Linked DNA regions of Homo sapiens: all the other regions are linked to region 1. The links are contacts of gene promoters, found by promoter capture Hi-C in blood cells and fetal thymus (Javierre and others, 2016). All regions are on one chromosome and are shown on one strand. The core of a region is centred on a gene start or on the middle of the fragment in contact, and the rest is flanking DNA. Distances in the headings are between cores, read along the strand shown. Region 1 holds the start of NUDT7 (nudix hydrolase 7). Region 2 holds the start of TERF2IP (TERF2 interacting protein). Region 3 overlaps DYNLRB2-AS1 (DYNLRB2 antisense RNA 1).

The links. Contacts are between HindIII fragments. The CHiCAGO score rates a contact against its expected background, and 5 or more counts as called.
Region 2: the fragment with the promoter of TERF2IP here is called in contact with the fragment with the promoter of NUDT7 in region 1 in 1 of 17 cell types (M0 macrophages); the score reaches 5.5 in M0 macrophages.
Region 3: a contact is called between a fragment that was not itself captured here and the fragment with the promoter of NUDT7 in region 1, in 1 of 17 cell types (total CD4 T cells). The highest score is 7.9, in total CD4 T cells.

The regions. Positions count from the first base shown.
Region 1 is chr16:77,719,727-77,723,763 of GRCh38, reverse strand. NUDT7 (nudix hydrolase 7) reads right to left here and starts at 1,250. Exons shown (of 4, transcript NM_001105663.3): 1 at 1,147-1,250. The coding sequence starts at 1,181. RefSeq lists a silencer at 1,275-1,404 and an enhancer at 1,118-1,412. The HindIII fragment of the contact is 15,416 bases long and covers 1-4,037 here.
Region 2 is chr16:75,645,351-75,649,450 of GRCh38, reverse strand. It overlaps TERF2IP (TERF2 interacting protein), which reads right to left and starts at 1,678. Exons shown (of 3, transcript NM_018975.4): 1 at 899-1,678. The coding sequence starts at 1,568. KARS1 (lysyl-tRNA synthetase 1) reads left to right here and starts at 1,786. Exons shown (of 14, transcript NM_005548.3): 1 at 1,786-1,873. The coding sequence starts at 1,812. RefSeq lists enhancers at 1-756, 554-823, 757-1,714, 1,754-1,933 and a silencer at 1,134-1,253. The HindIII fragment of the contact is 3,802 bases long and covers 171-3,972 here.
Region 3 is chr16:80,524,211-80,528,243 of GRCh38, reverse strand. All of the region lies in intron 2 of DYNLRB2-AS1 (DYNLRB2 antisense RNA 1), which reads left to right. Among named protein-coding and RNA genes, the nearest start is that of DYNLRB2, 15 kb to the left of the region's middle. RefSeq lists silencers at 672-761, 792-841. The HindIII fragment of the contact is 4,771 bases long and covers 1-3,799 here.

The DNA of each region.
Region 1 (4,037 bases), core at 1-2,500:
AAAAATTAGCCGGGCATCGTGGCACATGCCTGTAATCCCAGCTACTCAGAAGGTTGAGGCAGGAGAATCGCTTGAACCCAGGAGGCAGAGGCTGCAGTGAGCCGAGATTGCCTACTGCACTGTAGCCAGGGCGGCAGAGTGAGACTCTGTCTCAAAAAAAAAAAAAAAAAAGTGTATACAAATGACTTCTCTGAGTTTCATCTTCATTTGTGTCAGGCTTGAGGATATTTAAGAAGATTAAATGATGCAGTTCATATACTGTGGCTGGCACACAGCTGGTGCTCAGGGAATGGTAACCACTGTCATAAATCTCCCCATCATTAGATAAGCAGTTGTTTGCAGGAGGTATTTGCTATTTTTTGCCTCTTTCTAGGTGGCAGGGTGCTCACCAGATGTGGTTGGGTAACGGCAGTGTATTTCAAAGACCAAATGGCCTGAAAAAAATCAGTGAATGCTGGCACAGGGATTGCACAGTGCATCTGGATGCACGCAGGCCAGCCTCCAGAAAAGGAAACTGTGGGCTGGTGGCTTTTAACCACCCGGAAACCACAGAACTGACCAGACAAACCAGCCAAAGTAAAAGGCTGCAAAAACGTTATCTGTCCACTTTAGGGGCTGGCCGCTGGAATAATCACCAAGGTATCAACAGCAGTAGCAGCCACCCCGTTCTGAGCATGGTCTCAATTTTGACGTTTCTCATTTTATCCTCACAACAGCCCGGCAAGTGATCACAGGGTCACCTCCAGGCTCAGAGAGTTTACGAAACTGACAGACCCAAGGTCACAACTGAAAGTAGCCACCGGGGGACTTGAATCCGGGGCTGCCTGCTGCGGGTCTGTGCCACTGTCGGGGGTCCTGGGGTCCAACTCTGGAGACGCGGATTGCAGAACAGCCAAGCCGGCTGGGAAGGGGAGCAGCGTGTATGTAAACCATACTGGCTTAAGCCGGCTCTGTTCCTGGCCAGAGCAGTGCAAAGGTTCGGGGACCCTGCGGGTTGCTGGAGGCGAGTGCTCCCCCATCCGGCGCTCGCAGGTGGACTGGCGGGAGCTGCAAAATCAGTCCCGGCCAAAAGGCCCCGGTGGCCTCCGCTACGATCAAGGCCGGGCCTGACCAAGCTCGGGGTGCCAGGGCCCGGAAAGCCTTTACCTGACTGGCTCCTCGGGAAGACCAAGTCGTGACATTGCCCTGGGGAATGTTTGTTTCCGGGCGGACTCCTCGGAGCTGCTCGGTCGGTCGCGCTTGCGCAGAGCAGCTCTGGGCTTGGGAGCGGCCTAAAGCCAGAGAGAGGGGCGGGGCTTAGAGCACGAGGCGGGGTGGTGTCTGGGGCGGAGACAGGGGGCGGGGCGGTGCGAGATCTGGGATCGGAGGCCGGGATCGGGGCGGGGCGGGGCTTATAGCCAGAGGCGGGACTTGAGGTGGGGAGAGGCGCGGGGCGGGACTTAGGGCCGGGTGTTCCTGGTTGCTCAAAGCAGTTTCTGCCGGGCTCCTTGGGCTTCTATGGAAGCAAGAGGTATAGGAGGAGTTGTGGAATTTAGAGCTGGAAGAGTTAAAAAAAAAAAAAATACAGTGTTGGTGAGGTGATAATATTTTACACTCGCATTCGCTGTTGCTGGAAGGTTAAGGTGATTCATTCAACTTTTTGGAACTGCTGTCAGCACCTGTTCACCGACCACCTGTATGCACTGGGTGCAGATCCCACAGCTAGCGAAAAGACACGTGGAGCTCACAGTCAAATGGTAGAAACATAAATTAATCACACAGGGCTGGATGCAGTGGCATATGCTTGTAATTCCAACACTTTGGGAGGCCAAGAGGGGAGGATCACTTGAATCCAGGAGTTCGAGCCCAGCCTGGGCAACATGGCGAAACCCCATCTCTACAAAATAAAAATAAAAAATTAGCCAGGCGTGGTGGCACACACCTGTGGTCCCAGCTACTCAAGAGGCTGAGGTGGGAGGATCGCTTGAGCCCAGGAGGTCGAAGCTGCAGTGAGCCGTGATAGCACCACTGCACTCCAGCCTGACAGAGGTAGACCGTCTCAAAAATAAGAAGAAGAAGATAAGAAGTTTTTAATGCAAAAAAAAAAAAAAAAAAAAATCACACTGATAAAGCAGTGGCCTTTGGTCCTTCTAGAGCGTGTGAAGGAGAAATGTGACCCAATTAGGAGACAGAAGAGGCTTGGTAGAGGAAATAGAAGTGCAGCTCATCTTGAAAGCAGTAGTTCTCAAAGTGTGGTCCTCAGACCAGCAGAATCAGGATCACTTTGGTCCTGTTAAAAATGTGGACTCTGGGCCAGGCGCTGTGGCTCACACCTGTAATCCCAGCACTTTGGGAGGCCAAGTCGGGTGGATCACCTAAGGTCAGGAGTTTGAGACCAGCTTGGCCAACATGGTGAAACCCCATCTCTACTAAAAAAACAAAAATTAGCCAGTGGCAGGCGCCTGTAATCTCAGCTACTAGGAGGCTGAGGCAGGAGAATCGCTTGAACCTGGGAGGCGGAGTTTGCAGTGGGCCGAGATCGCGCCATTGCACTCCAGCCTGGGCAAAAAAAAGCGAAACTCTGTCTCAAAAACAAAACAAAACAAAACAACAACAACAACAACAACAAAAACCAAGAAAGAAAGAAAGGAAAGAAAGAAAAGAGAAAAGAAAAGAAAAGAAAAAAGACGAAAAGAAAAGAAAAGAAAAGAAAAGGTGGACTTTGGGGCCCATGTCACAACTGCTGAATCAGAAGCCAGGTGTCAGGCCCAGTGATCTGTGCTGTAAGGGGATTCTGATGCTCTGTGCGGGATAGAGGACATAAATGAGGAAAAAGGCAAGGGAGAGTGTTCAAGGAAGAGGGCAAAGTTTGTGCAAAGACAGCAGAAAGGGGCTGGAGAACAGTGTGTGTGAGGGAGCCTGGTGCGAGCTGAGAATCCAGGGGTCAGTGTAGGGCTGACTTCTCCCTTACAGGCACAGGACACACACAGTAATTTTAGGGACCTGTGAAAATGTTTTAATTGTAATTTCTTTTTAAATTAGAAGAAGAAAAGGTATGTAATAAAAGCAATATATAATAATGAATCCAGCTTGGATGATAGTCATTTTATGAATTCAGTCATAAAATATTCACTTTAAAATTATTTTATGGAAGAAGGGGTGCACAAAAACAAAGTAGCTAGGGCCCATGAAAGTAATATTGTGGCTGGCCCTAGGTCAGTGGGGCAGTTTGTGAAATTATTAATGAAATGAAATATTAATGAAATATCGCTGTGATATTTACAACATCCAGTGTTTACACACCGTGACATCAATGAAATATCGATGTGATATTTATAATATCCAGTGTTTACACACTGTGATATTAATAAAATATGGCTGATATTTGTAATATACAATGTTTACACACCGTGATATTAATATAATATCGCTGTGATATTTATAATACCCAGTGTTTCCACACTGTGATATCAATGAAATGTCTCTGTGATATTTGTAATATCAAGTGTTGATGCACCATAACATCAATGAAATATCACAGATATTTACAACATCCAGTGTTTACACACCATGACCTCAATGAAATATCAATATGATATTTATAATATCCAGTGTGTACACACCGTGATATTAATAAAATATGGCTGTGATATTTGTAATATACAGTGTTTACACACCGTGATATTAAGCAAACATCGCTGTGATATTTATAGTATCCAGTGTTTACACATCGTGATATAAATGAAATATCGCTGTGATGTTTATAATATCCAAGGTTTACAAACTGTGATACCGATGAAACATCGCTGTGATATTTATAATACCCGATGTTTACACAAAGTGTTTACACACTATGATGTTAAATATCGTTGTGATTTTTATAATATCCCGTGTGAAATTAATGAAATATCACTGTGACACTCATAATATCCAGTGTTTACACAGTGCTTACACGCTGTTACGTTAATGAAATATCACTGTGATATTCATAATATCCAGTATTTACACACAGTGCTTACGCACTGTGACATTAACGAAATATCGCTGTGATATTCATA
Region 2 (4,100 bases), core at 429-2,928, 2.1 Mb after region 1:
TGCCTCAGCCTCCTGAGTAGCTGGGACTACAGGAACTCTCCGCCACGGCCGGCTAATTTTTGTATTTTTAGTAGGGGCGGCATTTCGCCATGTTGGTCAGGCTCGTCTCGATCTCCTTACCTCAGGTGATCCGCCCGCCTCGGCCTCCCAAAGTGCTGGGATTACAAGCTTGAGCCGCCGCGCCCGGCCAAGAGAGAATTTTCTATATACTTTTTGTAACTTTTGAATATAGAACCATGTCAATATTCTAGTCAATGGTAAAGTAAATTAAAACTAGACCAAGAAGCTGGGTGTGATGGCTCACGCCTGTAATCCCAACACTTTGGGACACCGAGACGGGAGGATCGCTTGAGCCCAAGAGTTCGAGACCTGTCAGGGCAACACAACGAGACCCCCATCTCTACAACAATTTTTTTTTTAATTTAGCGGGACGTGGTGGCGCGGGAGTGTAGTTCCAGCTACTTGGGAGGCTGAAGCCGGAGATTCGCTTGAGCCCAGGAGGTCCAGGATGCAGTAGGTCGTGATCGCGCGGCTGCATCACAGCCTGGGCGACGGAGCGAGCCCCCACTCAAAAATTAAAAAATAAAAACGACGAGAGGCCAGACGTGGTGGCTCACTCCTGTAATCCCAACACTTTGGGTGGCCGAGGCAGGAGGATCGCTTGAGCTCAGGAGTTCAGACCAGCTTAGGTAACAGAGACCCATCGCAAAAAAAGAACAATAATAAACAACAAGGGAGCGAGAAGGCAAGAAAATGGTGCAAATTTACCCGGATGTCAACAGGGGGCGGGGCCAAGCGCTGCTACCGAAGATGCCAAGATGGACGCCAGGCAGCCAGGAGAAAGATCCCAACCCCACCCGCGCAGATATCCGCGAGGCCCCGCGCTCAGCCTCCTCACCCCCGCTATCCGCGGCCTCCGGGTCCTCCTCCGCCTTCCGCTTGAGCTTCTGGGAGGAGGGGCTCACCGGCGCGTCCCCCAGCAGGTACTTATGCTCCTGGCCCCGCAGGTGCTTGAGGTAGCGGTCCTTCAGGGACTGCCACGAGTGCTGCGTGAGCGAGCTCTTCTCCATCGCTTTCCACAAGGCGTTACCGGTGACGGAGCTGGGCGAGCGGGCATTTTCCTTCACGTAGGTAAGGATGGCTACGTCGTCCGCATCCGTGAAGGCGATCCGCCCGGCGTGCCGCTGCGGCTCCGGCTCCGCGGCGCCCTCGGCCAGGGCCCCGGGCTTTGCTTCCGAGCCGGTGTCCGCCGCCGAGGCGGGGCCCAGCCGATAGGCCTCCAGCTCCAGCCTCTCGTTGCGCTCCACGCAGTCCAGGATGTACTGCGTGGAGATGAAATCACCCGAGGCCTCGGCCAGCGCCTCCCCGGGCTGGGCCAGCAGCACGGCCCCGGGCTCCTGCACTCGGCACACGGTGCCGCCGCCGTGCAGGATGAGCGTCGACAGCCGACGCTTGGCCGGGCTGGGCCGCACGTAGAAGGACATGGAGCTGCCGTCGTCCCTCACGAACAGAGTCGAGGAATGGGTGGGCCCGTTGGGGTCTTTGCCCAAATCCATCGCCTCCGCCATGTCTGACGCCGAGCACTACTAGAAGAGCTACCCCCTCGCGAGCGCCTGGCACACAGAGCTCAACTGACTGAGCTGTCACCGCAGACGCCTCTGCCGCGAAGCGCAGCACTGGGCCTGCGCAGCAGCAGCCGCGGCGCATCGAGAGTGCCCGCCCCCTCTCCCCCGGAAGAGGTGGGGCTTCGCACCTTGACCTGGAAATTAACGTACTATCCTCCTTACTTTTGGGTCGGGCCCTCCGGGAAGATGGCGGCCGTGCAGGCGGCCGAGGTGAAAGTGGATGGCAGCGAGCCGAAACTGAGCAAGAAGTGAGTGTCGCTGCGAGTCTTTAAAGCCTTTGCGGTAGGAGAGTCTGGGCTGGGAAGCGCCGCGAGGTTCCCACCAAGGCTGCTGTGCCGGGGCCTTCTTGCCGGCTCTCGTGGGTACGCACATGCTGAGACGTGGTGGCTGCGCCCTGCAGACCACGTACCCCGGGATACCCCGGGCACGCCGGCTCCCCGTTCCCAGCTGGCACCGGCGGGATGCTCCCTATCATACTCCTAGAGTTAAGAGACTGTGGAGGAGGAACTAGGACGAGAACTAAGAGTTATCAGAAAAGAAAAGCGAAACTTCCTGCTTAGCTTCATCCTCCTTTCTGAGAAATGCATTCTTTTGTTGAGCCACTCAGTAAACGTGGAAGTTGGAGAAATGTTAAATACCCTAGCTTTTCAGAAAGACCTTCAAAATTTTCTGGGCCTCACTAAGGTCATTCTGAACGTTATGTATTAAAAGGGATCAGTTCTAAAACTGTCATGCATCTACCCGTATGGGTTATTCAGTAGATACCTGTGAGTATTAAGTGATCAACGTCTAACAGTAGAGACCATCTTAATTCAGCCTGATATCTTTGTTAACCACTCCCAAATCCCTGGAGTATGTAGGTTAACATAGATAAGTCAGGATTAGCCACCCTTTAACTGGCTGTCTTATATTCTCATTAGCGTTCCCCATTTGAACCACAGAACACAGGTAATTGAGTGTTTTATCATTGCTAGGAAGATGGTACATAGTACCATTCCAGAGGCATACGAGAGGGCTTAATCCCCGTGGCGCGCACTTGTTATCCCAGCTACTCGGGAGACTGAGGCAGGAGAATCGCTTTAACCCAGGAGGCGGAGGTTGCAGTGTGCTGAAGTCGTGCCACTGCACTCCAGCCTGGGAGACTTGAGGTAGTGGTCCTTCAGGGACTGCCAGAAGTGCTGCGTGAGCGAGCCCTTCTCCATCGCTTTCCCCAAGGAGTTACTGAGACGGAGCCAGACCCTGAATGAAAAAGAAAAGAGAAATGATGTTTCTTTTTTTTTTTTTTTAAGATGGAGTCTCGCTCTGTCGCCAGGCTGGAGTGCAGTGGCGCGATCTCAGCTCACTGCAACCTTCGCTGCCAGGGTTCAAGCGATTCTCCTGCCTCAGCCTCCCGAGTAGCTGGGATTACAGGCGTGTGCCACCATGGCTGGCCAATTTTTGTATTTTTAGTAGAGACAGGGTTTCACCATGTTGGGCAGGATGGTCTCAATCTCGTTACCTTGTGATCCGCCCACCTTGGCCTCCCAAAGTGCTGGGATGACAGGCGTGAGCCTGAGCCACCACCCCTGGCCTGATGTTTCCTTTTGTGTCCCTGGCTTTGTGCTTCAAATATCTTAGAAAAAGTATAAGAGAAATTGTCGAAGTTTATAGTTGGGTAGGACCTTAATATATTGTCCTTTATTAGAGCAATCCGATGGACTTCCATAAAAGTTTGGAACCTGGTCTTTGGACTGCTACCTTAGAGAAAATTGACTTGACTTTATTAAGTCAAATTTAATTGAATGTGGTATATCTGTGATATACGATCCTAAAGTTTAGTTCATTCTTTCAAACCACCTATGATAATCAATTACATTGAATTGAACTTTAGGACTGTATATCACAGGTGAAAGCACGGTTTCCAGTTCAGAGTGTGTTTTTAGGTAAACGGAAAAAACTGGTTAATTCCTCTTTACTGACTTTTTTTTTTTTTTTTTTTTTTTGGAGGCAGAGTCGTTGTTGCCCCGGCTGGATTGCAGCGGTGCGATTTCAGCCCACGGCAACTTGCAACTCCCGGGTTCAAGCAATTCTGGTGCTTCAGCCTCCCAAGTACCTGGGACTACAGGTGCATGCCACAACACCCGGTTAAATTTTTGTGTTTTAGTAGAGACGGGATTTGACCTTGTTGCCCAGGCTGGCGTCAAACTGCTGAGCTCAGGTGATCCGTCCGCCTCAACCCCACAAAGCGCTAGGATTATAGGCGTGAGCCACCACTCCCTGCTTCACTGACTTTTCTAAAATTAAATACAGCTACTACTTTTTTGACCAGCTTTTCTGTGCCAGGCACAATGCTAGATCTCTACAAGCTTTCTGTCTAGTGTCAGTAATAACCTTGCAAGAGGAGTTATTGTCCATTTTTCAAATTAATAAACTGAGGTCCTAGTAATTAAATGCACTATTAAAGTGTGCATTCCTAAAATATAGTCTAGCAGTGAT
Region 3 (4,033 bases), core at 165-2,664, 2.8 Mb before region 1:
TAGGCAGGATGGTCTTGATCTCCTGACCTCGTGATCCCCCTGTCTCGGCCTCCCAAAGTGCTGGGATTACAGGTGTGAGCCACCGCGCCCGGCCTCCTTCAACAATATTGATGGAATATTTGAGGCAGAATCGTGGGGGTGAAGGGAATACAACCATAAATAAGATAAAAATATCCCTTGCTTGCACGGTGCCTACAGTCTTGTGGGGGATATGGTTAATGAACAAACAGTTGCAAAACTGCACACAAAGTTTCCCAGTGGGAGAAGTTTAGGTTGCAAATGGTGCACGTAGAAGGTCATCCTAACCCAGCATGAGGTGATCCTAGAAGGAATCCTGGACTGGTGCTATCTAAGCTGAGATCCAAAGGAGGCTCGGACACTAGTTAGGTCAGTAGGTGTAGGGGTGGAACAGAGGGAAAAGCAGGTGCAAGAAAAGTCTGATGTTTCAAAAAACTAAAGTTACTGCAGTTTGATGTGACTTCAGCTATGACTTTAGCATACAGATTGGGGAAAAAACTTCTCTAGGCAAAACCTAGTATTATTTTGGTAAACTGTGCTCAAGTGCCTTACCTGAAATTCAGAGCATGCGCATGAATGGACCTGCCGCCTTTCCTTTACTAGTGTGCTCAGGTAGGAACCCCAGCTTCATATATGGAGGCCAGAAAGTACAGGTTAAGGCAGACTTCTGCATTTGCTGCACTGACTGGCAAAATACTGACTCAGCACCCCCGCCTCACTGAGGCAGACAGCGCCCTCAAGTGGAAATGAAGATGAGCGGTACTTTGTGCCTCATTAGCCCCAATTTGTATATGCAGTAAATGTGCTGTTTTGTTTTGTTATGTTTTGTTTTTGTTTTTGTTTTTGCCATTCCCCTGTGAAGCTGCAGTCAGCTGATGGTCAGCAAAGTCTGCTGAAATTCTGAAACCAAATAATATAAGGAGTGTTTTCATTTCTATGAAGAGCTGATTTGTTTTATTATCTAAATTTTAATCCAAGGAAGTTTTCAGGTTGAGAGGTTGAGAAAAATTATAAAAGATAACAGAAGAAAGGATGGGAAATAATAAAAAAGAAAAATGTTTTGTCATTTCTCTTTCAATTCCATCTCCAGAACATTAGTTCAGCTTTGGCTAGTGGAAGGGAACTAGTAAGTGGATCTTCTGATATAAACAATGTTAACAATGGAAAGTTAATTTCTTCTCAACATCTCTAACTACACTTTGGGCAGTAGCTCAGGAACATAACTCTGAAGTGCTATCAAATGTGCAGTCGGCCTGGGCACTCATGTGTTTGGGATCAAGACAGAATAAGGAGGTGTGTGTTAGAGAGAGGATGCCTGTGTCTCACGTTGTAATGTCCCAAGACCTGGGCTGCTCCCGTAGTTGCCCAGTTTCATCTCCTATGCCAGGGGGAAAATTGACATCTTTTGCCAAACTACATTGTGATTTTGAGGTTATTCAATTTCATTTAGCTATTTTGTAAATATTTCAAGATTTAAGAATATGCTGAATAGAATTAAAATGCTTTCGGTGACAGAAGGTGCTGAAATGGAGTAGCTACTGCTCTTTGTCTCTAAGTAAGAAGGCAAGTTTGGGGAAATGACCTGTGTTACTCCTCACAGGCCTCTAGGTGGTGCTGCTGTGACAGCTATTGGCTTTACCGTTTCTTTTTAGCGCTTAACTATCAAACCAAATATTTAACTTATTAAATCTCTTACACTTATGGTTAATTGCTAATATAATACTATTGATAATTTATACCATCACATTTACATTAGATTCTCCTAATAATGAGCCTATATTCATAAATTGCACAACAGAGTAATTTTAAGGGTTGGAATAAATGTAGGTCTCTGGTTATTAATTAATAAAGTCAAAAACTTTCACGTGTGGCTGAATTTTTCCACATACATTAAAACTAACTACATAATTAGCTTTTCCTTACCTCTACTTGCATTGGGTAAAATAGTACTTCGTACACAGTAGGAGCCAAATTAATGTTTATTAAAGGACTTAATTCTTTTTTGAGTTTCCCTTTCTACTATTCATTGAGGATGAGATAACTACTGGATTAAGTTTTTTAAAACGCTGGTCAGACATTGCTGCTTATCTCGGCTAATAACAACAACGGGAGGCCATTTTTTCTTTATTTCTGAAAATGGCCTGAAGAATATCTATAAAATCACTTCTTTATTTTAAAAGCAAATTGGTTTTTGAGGTTGGTTCTATTGAAATGCAAGAATGGTATGAAAAAGAGCGTTTGATAATTGCTCAAATCTTAATCAAGATTTTATTAAAATCAATATTTGATGGGCTGCTCAATTTAATTAAATTAAACCACAGAGAAATGAGGAATAAATGAGCTTGAAAATCAATCACAGGATGAGGTATGTTTCTTTTTGTTAGTTTAATATATGAAATGTTGTGTTAAGCAATTGCTGACCATGGGAGAAGCAAACAAAATCACCACTTCGCTTTAGACAACATGAGCCCACATTTTGTGCCAGGCACTGTGCTAAACACAGTCTACATGTGCCTTAATTAATTTTGAAACAAAATCCCGTGAGGTCGGTCTCCTCAGTTTATGATTCAGGCCTAGGTGTGAGCCAGGATGGCTGTTCCAGGTCATTCCATTGATAAATGGCAGAGTTAGCTGTAAATATAATGACCAAGCCTTTCCTACTACCTCAAATTGTTCACAAACAGGAAGAAAAAGCGCAGTTAATGATTAAGTTTAGAGAAGGGCATTGGTGATAATTTTCTTCCTTAAAAAAGTGTAGCTTTATAGGTAAGTAATTAGAGGGGGCAGGGGACCCAAATTAAAAAGCGTGAGTGTTGACTTAGAAGCTCTGAGTCCCAAGATGGCAAAAAACAGGAGGGAGGTGGGAGGTGTTATTTTTCTGGATAGACATATAATATAGTTATTTGCCATATAATTTATGCTTATTGAGAGTGGCAGAGATTTATGGTGTTAGTAACAAAGTGTTTTAATTGGGATTAGCTAATGAAAAAGTGGCAGAACTGGCAAGGGAGAAGGTAGGAAAATGTGATTTGAGCTGAGGTGTTTCTTCTCATGGGATGCTAACAAAAGAGTTAGTGTTACGCACCGGGGCAAGAATCATACTTTTAATTAGGCTTTCAGAGTTTGTGCTTGCATTCTTGGTTCTAAGGAGTCTTAGTCACCCAAAGAATCAACTCTAGGAAAGTAACGATATTCTCGTTAAATATCACTGGCAATGAGAATGAAATTGCAGCTTCCTAAAAATAAAAAAACTCCCTCATTTTTATTCACTGCTTCTTTGGTGCGATGGAAATTAAAGATCAACAACAATCACACCCACACAATTGTGCAGCTTCCCTACACTCCAGGCTGAGAAGAATTTGTTTCTCAAGCCACTGCTTCCTAAACTTTAGTCATTCATGTTTCATGTTTATAATTTTTGCTATCTCCCTGCACCTCTTATATTACTTAAAATTTTTATTAAAAATGGCTCATTAAAAAATTAAAATTAAGTACATTTATTTTAGAAAAAATACGTAAGTGGGAAGCTAGAGTCACTTGCCCTAAGAAGGGTATTTGTGAAAAGAAACAATGAAATCAAAACAGTGTTATTGAATTTTAACTTCAGGGAAGTGTCCAGAGGTCGTAAAGACATACTTTCACCACACTGAGACTTCTTTGATCATAACTGAGCCATAAAAGAAAAGACTTGAAAAGGGAATAATTGTCTCATTATGTGAATCACTTTTTATCCAACAGTGTATCTATTTGCCATCTAAAATTACATTTTCTAATCAAAGCTTCATCCTCCAAACATATGTCTTTGTTTGCTGGTCATAGGAATCTCTCACCCCTCACCTTTTTAACTCTCCAACTTCCAACTTCTCCCAGTAGTATTTAAATCTCGCCTTCTACCCATCTAATTCCATTTACCTTATGTCTAAACATTTAGAGGATCCTGTTAAGCAAACACATTGGAGATGGAGGCCGATTACAAAATGAGCTTCTATTATTGGTTAATACAACTTTTCTTCAT